Linked DNA regions of Homo sapiens: region 1 is linked to region 2. The links are contacts of gene promoters, found by promoter capture Hi-C in blood cells and fetal thymus (Javierre and others, 2016). All regions are on one chromosome and are shown on one strand. Each heading gives the region's core, a stretch centred on a gene start or on the middle of the fragment in contact. The rest is flanking DNA. Distances are from core to core; before and after follow the strand shown.

Region 1 (4,641 bases), core at 1,992-4,491, 860 kb after region 2:
AATGGCAAGAAAGTGCCTGGGATCAGGGAGATTTACGAGCTGGCTGTGAGTTAACAGGAAAGTGGTACTTACTCTAAACACTAGCATTCAGGTTAGTGCCCCAGTTCAGAAAGGCCGAAATAGACACTGTAAAAAGCGGAAATATAAATATATATGTAAGAGTATATATATATATTTATAAAAATACTTATACTTAAGGTTCTGAGGCAGTATATAGAAAAAAAGAAAGAGAAGTAAATATGTAGAGAAATGAGCCTCACAAATCTTGTTAATGCAAGCTTACTCATTGAAACCCAGAGGAGTTTGGATTCTTTTAGCCCTTCTGCTAATTTAAGAGATAGTAGCTATAACCAATGTTAGCTACATAAATAAGTATATACATACCTGAAAACAACAGTGAGGATACTGAATGACACATTCTTCATTCCCTTAGTTCCTCTTGCCTGAAGAGAATTTGAACCACTCTTTGTCTATAAGGAGCTCTCTGCAACACAGTCTAGAACTTGAGAGAAATCTGAATGATTTTATAGAAACTGACTTTCAAGAAAAGAAAAAAGTTGTTCTTTTCAGTGTTCAAGAAACACAGAGTTGGCTATCAGCGCTGATGCTTCATCTGATTTGTTTCCTAAGTCATCCTGTAAAGTGCTACACATGAACATCCCTGGTACACACCGAGGAGCATAATCATCCCACCAAGGTACAAGCGGGAGGGGGCAAGACATCCAGCGAAGCAGTTCCAGTGAAACAGCAAAAATGCTCCCTTCAGTCTATGGAGCAAAAAACTTGTCTTTGGAAAGTTCATATCTTCCTTTTAGGTTAAAAAAAAATGTAGCCTCCTGACATGGCACTCAAAAAGTAAGAAAATCTCTTTTTATTCGAAATAAATTCAGAATGTAACAGTTAGAAAGATATCTGAGTCCCCTCCACCCCCAGCTACAAACATATCCCCGCCCCTTCTTCTACCCGTGGTGTTCAACCTTGGCTGCACTTCCAACTACCTGGGGAGCTTTAGAAACCCCAATGCCCAAGCCACACCCCAGCCAATTAAACCAAAATCTTTGGGTTGGGACCAAGGCACCAGTATTTGTTAAAGCTCCCCAGGTGATTCAAATATGTGGTCAAGGTTGAGAACCACTGTCCCACTATAAACTTCTAGAACAAGATCCCAGATGATTTGTATCTTCGATTTTTCCCAGATTAGATTCTTCATTCAGGCGCTATGCCATTTTGCCAAAGGTGTGAACATGCCATGAGCCCCTGGGAGTTCTCTGTGACTGAGTGGAAGGATGAGTGCTGGCTTCTCAAAGGTTTTATTGTTTGTTTTGTTTTAACTCCCAGATTACTAATGTGGAGATCACTGTGCCGATTAGAGGATTATGAAATGCTTTTATGTTTTACAGCGACTTGACATTTTAAACCAAGATGTTTAGGAATCTAGGCTTTTCACTGTTATTTTCCGAGAGTTTTTTGTTTGTTCTCAGATCCAGAATATATTTTCCTCCAGTTCACTCCCAGCAGCTGGAAACTCTCTGCGTAGCTGTCCATTAAGGCTGTGGTATCCCCTCTTCACCTCCACTCACTTAGGGACCCTCGTTGTAGGCAGGGATTTCCATTCTGTCCCAGATGACCTAGACGAAACACCTGTAAATGGGCAAGTTAGGGTAGAGCTAACATATTTCTAAACAGTTGATTCTAAAGTGAGAGAGCAGCAGAATATGTGGGCAGTTCTGGCTGACTGAGAAGAAATGGCCCTCGTCTTCTTCTTCCCCTGCACCTTCCAGAGGCTGTGATGAAGAAATGTAAGCCTTAAGGAACTGAAAGTTCTAATCCAGCTTATCCCTATAGTGGGGCCTGGGCCCTGAATTGGTGTTTCTTTGGCTGCTAAGCATCAGGAAGCCCAGGGCAGGATGTGGGCTCATTCCAGACAAGGGGCCTGGAGCATTAAACTGTGGACCCACTGCCAAACACCAGCAATACCCGTGCAGACTAGCCTTCCCTGCTTACCCTTGCAACAATGATTCAGAGTCACCCCACACTTTGCACTTGGATATCTGTGGGATCTGGAACAGAGCCTGTACCACCTGAGACATCTTTTTTCCCTTTTGAGATTATACCAGTACACCTGATGTCATGGGGAATACTTTGTCAAAAGTTAATAAAACAGGTATTTATCACCTTAACATGTGTGTTAAACATAACTAAACATGTTATGTTTAAAACGTGTGTTAACATGTGTGCATACACACACACACACACACACACACCTGCCTTCCTACCTGTCTTCACTCCACCTGTAGACTGCTGTAAAGGGGATGCTTTGTAGCCCCACATTCTCTCCTCCAGCTCCACACAATTAGGACTGGGGAAACCTGGTCCCTCTCCACAGAGGCTACCGTAACTCAGAGACAAAACAGACCACCTAAGGGTAAATATAGGAGATGGGATTATGAGAAAGAGAGAGATGAATTCTGACTTGGGAATCTGAAAAGTCTCAGGGCTGAAGGCCGTGGAGCTGGAGCTGGAAGGATGTGCCATACTTCTAGGAAAGGCTGTAGGAAAGGCAACTTCCAGCAACAGGATGAGATCACTAAGGGTTTGGAAGTACAGAAGTTCAAGGCTCATTTTGTTTGGGAGGTGGCAAATCATCTCATGTGACTGGAATACAGGATGCTTTGTGGGGCAAAGGGAAAGGCCACAAACACATAATAAGCCCAGACTGCAGAAGGCCTTGAAATCCAGGCTAAGTCTGATTTTCCTCCCTTCCTGCTCTTTGTGTAATATCTTTATATGGTGTGTCTGCTCAGACATTTGCATATTTCAGTGTTTTCTTAGAAGACAAGGAGTAAGTCTATTGTAATTTAATTGGTACAATGAAAAGAACGATGGAACTATGAATAATGCCCCTTAAACACTACTTGTAAATGTTGATGATGATGGCACCAATTCTTTACAGTGGTAGGGGGACATAGTTAACCACATGCTGAAGTCTCCATGGTTTTTATAGCTGGTTCCTATTGTGTCCTGTGGTTTGAGTGTGATATGCCTATGACATGGAGCTTTGAGATGGCTGCAGGATCAGATTTTCTTTCCAAACTTCCCCCAGATGATTCCCTCATCTGCTGGGAGTTAACAATATCAGTATAAATCCAGGTTCCTTAGTCAGGCTCTCATCTTGTCTGCCAAGTGTGCTAAATTATTTTAAGCCATTAGAAGCACATGGTAGAGTCCATTATGGATTGGATCACTATTACACAGACTTGGATAGAATACAGATCAAATCCTGACCCCCAAACCACACTACATCCAGGAAAAGCCTATATCCCTAACAACTTGCCTACAAAACCCCCAGCTCTCCTTGTATAAAGGGTCCTGGTATTTTCTCTGGTCAGTGATACAGAAGCTAGATCAAAACTGCTCACCATTTCAGCGTGTCCCTCAGAGGGTAGGATGGAGGGCAAATAAACTTCTCAGCCTCAAAATGTCTTAGGGACAAGGAACTCCAAATAGGGTATGGGCTGTTGGAAGGGCAAGGGAACAGGATACTATTTTCCCCATTTTCTCTCTCTATCCCTTACAGTCCTCTCTGTTAACAACAGTAGAGGAAGAGATTGGAACATACAGCCAGGCATGACTCCTAGAGCAGTTGATTGAGCAGAACTCAACAAGTATTAACTAAACAGCTATCATGGACAAAAAGGCACTGAGCCGCATACTATTGAAAATTGAGAAATGAAAAGTCAGTAGCAGACAAAATGACCCAAGCACACAGATAAAATAAGCCTGAGAGGGACGCTAAAAGGGAGATGCAGATAATGTGCCGCTCTCCCAGCTTGTTATCAGGTGAGGTCCCAAGCAGGAGGCTACCTCTGACAGGGCCTGGAGGGAAGAACAGGCTTTTGAGAGATTCCACCGGATTCCAGGTAGAGCAAAAAGCACATAGAAGAAAAGTTCAGGACACACTTGAAGTAATTGCCCCCGTGACTCCTGAGGAGTGGGAGCACCCCAGAGAGGGTCATGACGGTCTTAGAGCCTTTCCTCCAGCCGGACATGGGGTACCAGGCGACACCACCTGCAGGGGCCACTTCTGAGCAGCCTTCCTCAGCGTGGTAGCCATCACTCAAGGCAATTTCAGACGAACTTCCTGTTCAAGCTGCCCCAGATGCACCGTCTCCCCACCGAGCAGGAAAGGGAAGCAAAGCCCCTCTGTCCTCAAACCTGACTGGGCCTCCTCGGGACTCTAACCTGCCCCTGACCTGGAGAAGGGCAGGGCAGCTGCACATACCAGCTTCCTCGCTCAGCGAGGGGGCCGGGAGCCTGCAAAGCACAAACAGGTGCGGGGCCGACCCGACTGGCGGCCGGGGGCAGCCGGGGACCCGGAGCCCGGGAGAGCCCAGCGCCGAGTCGTGGCGGGCGCCGCAGACCCCGCACCTGCCCTGGGACCCCCCGTTCTCTGCACGCTGGCCGGGAAGCCGGCACCCCTGCAGGAATTGCAGTCCCGTTTCGCACGTTTCCTTAATATTAGGCCACATTCCAGGTGGGACCCTTGCCAACGGGACCGCAACGAAGTTCTGGTTGGGATTTGATTGATTCTGTGATTTGTTCCTCCGGGAGGCCAAGCGCAGGGCACATCTCCCGGCCTTC
Region 2 (4,397 bases), core at 389-2,888:
AGGAGTTGGGGGAGAAGATAGACTACTGCTCACCCTTCTTAAACTCCTCCAGAACCGTGTCCAGTCGGGTGTCATTGAAAACACAATGCAGGGGCCGGTTGTAGAAGCGGGTGACAGTGAGGAGCGGGGTGCAGTCGTCGGGGTCCACGAAGGCCAAGTCCTTGACAAATAAAATGTCCACAATGTTGTGCCGCTGGTCACCCTCGTACACTGGGATGCGAGTGTAGCCGCTGCGCAGGATCTCGGAGACAGTGGCGAAGTCGAGCACCGCGTCTGAGCGCAGCATGAAGCAGTCTCCCAGGGGGGTCAGCACCTCCTCCACAACTTTGGTGCGCAGCTCCAGGGCACCCTGTATGATGTTGAGCTCCTCCTTCACCAGGTCACTGTAGGGGTCTGCGGCCCGCAACGTCTCCAGCAACTTCTCCCGCGTGTAGAAGGTGCTTATCTCCTGGCGCAGCGCCCAGTCCAGCAGGCGGCCCAGCGGGTAGCACACGGGGAAGGCGGCTGCCATCAGAAGCCGGGTCAGGCACACGCTGTGCGAGGCGATGGCCAGCCCGTGCCGCGAACACACTGAGTAGGGGCAGATTTCGGCGCCCAGGAATACCGCGCCGGTGCACACGAGCGCCGGCAGCCACGGGAAGTGGATCCCCTCTTCGCTGTAGTCTTCCCCGGTGCCCCCGAAGCCCGGCGGCAGCGAGGTGTACAGCCAGCCAGCCAGGGCCGCGTTGGCTCCGGCTTGGCCCAGGAGTAGGGTGCAGAGCAGATGGGTCCCCCTGCCGCGAACGGCCTGCACGCGGCGCGCCTGCTCCTGCTCGGCGGCCGAGCCGCTGTTCCGCAGCACCCGTAACTCCACCGGGTCCAGCGACAGCAGGCTCAGGCGCAGGCCGCTGAACAGGGCCGACAAGGCTAGCAGCAGGAGCGCCCCGAGCGCCCGCAGCCACGCAGGGGGCAGCAGGTCCCCGCCTGGGCCGTACAACCGCGGGCGAACGCGCAGCAGGAAGCCGCCGGCGGCGCCGTGGTGGTGCCACGCGCGCCCATCCCAGGCGCAGAGTGAAAAGAGCTTCCCGCCACCGCCCGCGCCGCCCCGCTCCGCTTCGCCCTTGCGCAGCTCCCGCACTCGCACCTGGACCAGGGCCGAGCCTGCCACGCCCCCGGGACGCAAGGGCCCCAGGACTTCCACGTCCGATGCCCAGTCGCTCTGCTCCCTGCAGCGCTGCGGTCCCGGGGGGCGAGTGGGGACCGCGCTGGGGGCCACGCCGCCACCGCCCGGGGGCTCCTCGATGAACACGAGCCGCGGAGCCCAGTCGCCGGTGCCATTCTCCCCCGAGTTGAGGGTCGGTGAGGGCACCGGTGCGGCGGTGGCCGGCGGTCCTGGCTGGAAATAGACACGCAGGAGGAAGCTGGTGCCTTCGGCGGCGCGCAGGGTGCCCCCCTCCAGGGACACGCGGCCTCCAGCAGTGTCCTCGGGCCGCAGGCCCAGCAGCCAGGCGGCGGCGGCCGGGGGCCGAGGAGACAGGGAAAAGAAGAGCAGGAGCACAGCGCCTCGGCTGCAGCAGTCCCGGAGCCTGACACCCACCGCTGCTGCCGCCGCCGCGGCCGCCGCCATCCTGCACCCAGCGCAGCTGCACGTGATACTGCAGGAAGCCGAGCGAGAGCTGGAGGGAGGAGGAGCCGGAGCTGGGAACCCAGCCGCAGGCAGGTCACCACGTGTACGCCCACTGCGCGCGTGGGCTGGTGGCGGTGGGCATTCAGACTCCACCTGGGCAGGAGGTCCCCGCTGGAGGCTGGAGGTGGCCAGGCATCACCGCACTGTGCGTAGCGGGTACACACTTCGGTATATCTGAGATGCAGCCTGAAAAGTCTGGGTTTGCAGCATGGCCTCCTACTCCAAAAGTAAGGTGCTCCTCTGCGAACTCCTACCCGGCAGTAATTCCCTGCCGGCTCCACTGCTTCCCCATTGGCCCGGGAAATTTCCCAGCTTTTCGCTTCTCCTGCCACTTGCATTCCCCCTTCTGGTCAAAAGAATATTCTGGAGTCAAGTCTTGAATATGTGAAAACTTTTAGCCTCAACTCCAGCCGACCTTTCATTATTGTAAACATTTCTGGATTATTTAAGTTCAATTCTTAGTTAAGATCCGAATGTCCATCAATAAGAAACTGTTGAAATAAGTGAAACCACTGTGCAATGGAATACTATGCGGCAATAAAAAATAATGCGGTGGATCTGTTGTATATGTGATACGGAAAAAAATCTCCAAAGTAATTGTAGAAACAAAGTAAGGTGCAGAACAGCAAGTATAATATGCTACCATTTGTGTTAAAAGTATTTATGTATAAATTTGTACACACACACACACTTATATGAGATTTATTTATTTATTTATTTATTTTGAGATGGAGTCTTGCTCTGTCGCCCAGGGTGGAGTGCAGTGGCACAATTTTGGCTCACTGCAACCTCCACCTCCCGGGTTCAAGCGATTCTCCTACCTCAGCCTCCTGAGTAGCTGGGATTACAGGCGTGCGCCACCGCGCCCAGCTAATTTTTATATTTTTAGTAGAGATGGGGTCTCACCATGTTGGCCAAGCTGGTCTCGAATCCCTGACTTCAAATGATCCATCTGCCTCGGCCTCCCAGGGTGCTGGGATTACAGGCGTGAGCCACCGCGACCCGCCGTTTACATCTTTTAATTAATTTATTTATTTTGAGACGGAGTTTCGCTCTTGTCACCCAGGCTGACGTGCAATGGCGCGATCTCGGCTGACTGCAACCTCCGCTTTCCAGGTTCAAGCGATTCTCCTACCTCAGCCTCCTGAGTAGCTGGGATTACAGGCGCCCGCCATCACGCCCGGCTAATTTTTTTTTTTTTTTTTTTTGGTAGAGACGGGGTTTCACCACGTTGGCCAGGCTGGTCTCGAACTCCTGACCTCAGGTGATCCGCCTGCCTCGGCCTCGCAAAGTGCTGGGATTACAGGCATGAGCCACCGTGCCTGGCGGGTTACATCTTAATTATAGTACAATATCAAAAGCAGGAAGTTGATATTGGTGTAATGTGTGTATATAGTTCTCTATCATTTTATCACATGTATGGATGTATGTGACCATCACTGCACTCAAAATACAGATCTATTATCACCAAGATCTGGGAGGGAGACTTTCTTATTAAATTCCTTATATTGTTTGAATTTACTCGACTATATTATTTTTATGCATTTATTTTTAAACTTTATATAGTAAAATTCACTTTTTGGTGTACTGTTCTATGAATGTTGACAAATGCATATACATGTAAACATCACAATAAAAAGTAATTCCATCACCACCACCCCCCAAATTCTCTTACCGTCCTATTGTATGTAGTCAACCCCTCCCTTCGTCTTATCCTCTGGGAACTACTGATCTGTTCTCCCCTATAGTTTTCTTTTCCGGATTATCATATAAATGGAGAATACAGTCTGTAGCCTTTTGGGTTCTCCCTTCCTTTACTAAGTTAGCATAATGCATTTACGATTCATCTATGTTGTTGTGATTTTCAGTAGTTCATCCTTTTGTATGGCTGAGTAGCATTCCATTATATGGATGTGTCACTGTTTGTTTATCCATTCAATAAAGGATATTTAAGTTATTTCCAGTTTTTAGCAATTATTAATAAAGTGGCTATGAACATTTGTGTGATGGTTTTTGTGAGAACATAAATTTTTATTTCTCTTGGGTAAATTTATCATAAGTCTGTATTACATTTTAAAATATAGTAATCCTAACTACTTGGTAGGCTGAAGTGGGAGGATCTCTTGAGGCCAGGAGTTAGAGACCAGCCGGAACAATGTAGGGAGGCCCTGTCTCTAAAAAATTAAAAATTAAAAAAAATTAGCCAGGCATGGCGACACATGCCTGTAGTTTCATCTACTTGGGAGGCTGCAGCAAGAGGATCACTTGAGCCCAGGAATTCGAAGCTGCAGTGAGCTATAATCGCATCACTGCACTCCAGCCTGGGCAACAGCATGAAACCTTGTCTCTAAAAATAATTAATAAATTAAAAAGGAAGAGTTATTTTACATACCACCCTTGGCACCTGGGTTTAGTGTAAAATCATCCCTATGTGTGAAATCTCATTTTCCGTGGCATTTGTGACATGCCATTGTCTCAGAATACACTAGATCCTGTCCACTATAAGCTGCTTTTTGCATGGGCTACTTAAGAGACAGAAGGGAGGTTTAATCTTATGAGGGAACATTGAGGCATTTATTCGAAGTATAAGGGAAGGAGAGAACTGGGGTCAACCATATGATTGTTTTTCTTCCTTTCTTTCTTTCTTTTTTTTTTTTTATTGAGACGGAGTCATGCTCTGTCACCCAGGCCGGAGTGCAGTGACGCGATCTTGGCTCACTGCAACCTCCAC

What was found. Contacts are between HindIII fragments. The CHiCAGO score rates a contact against its expected background, and 5 or more counts as called.
Region 1: a contact is called between a fragment that was not itself captured here and the fragment with the promoter of CNNM1 in region 2, in 1 of 17 cell types (total CD4 T cells). The highest score is 5.2, in total CD4 T cells.

What each region holds. Positions count from the first base shown.
Region 1 is chr10:98,467,726-98,472,366 of GRCh38, reverse strand. All of the region lies in intron 11 of HPSE2 (heparanase 2 (inactive)), which reads left to right. Among named protein-coding and RNA genes, the nearest start is that of HPS1, 23 kb to the right of the region's middle. RefSeq lists silencers at 4,321-4,420, 4,471-4,520. The HindIII fragment of the contact is 5,922 bases long and covers 281-4,641 here.
Region 2 is chr10:99,326,597-99,330,993 of GRCh38, reverse strand. CNNM1 (cyclin and CBS domain divalent metal cation transport mediator 1) reads right to left here and starts at 1,638. Exons shown (of 11, transcript NM_020348.3): 1 at 34-1,638. The coding sequence starts at 1,606. The HindIII fragment of the contact is 5,728 bases long and covers 1-4,397 here.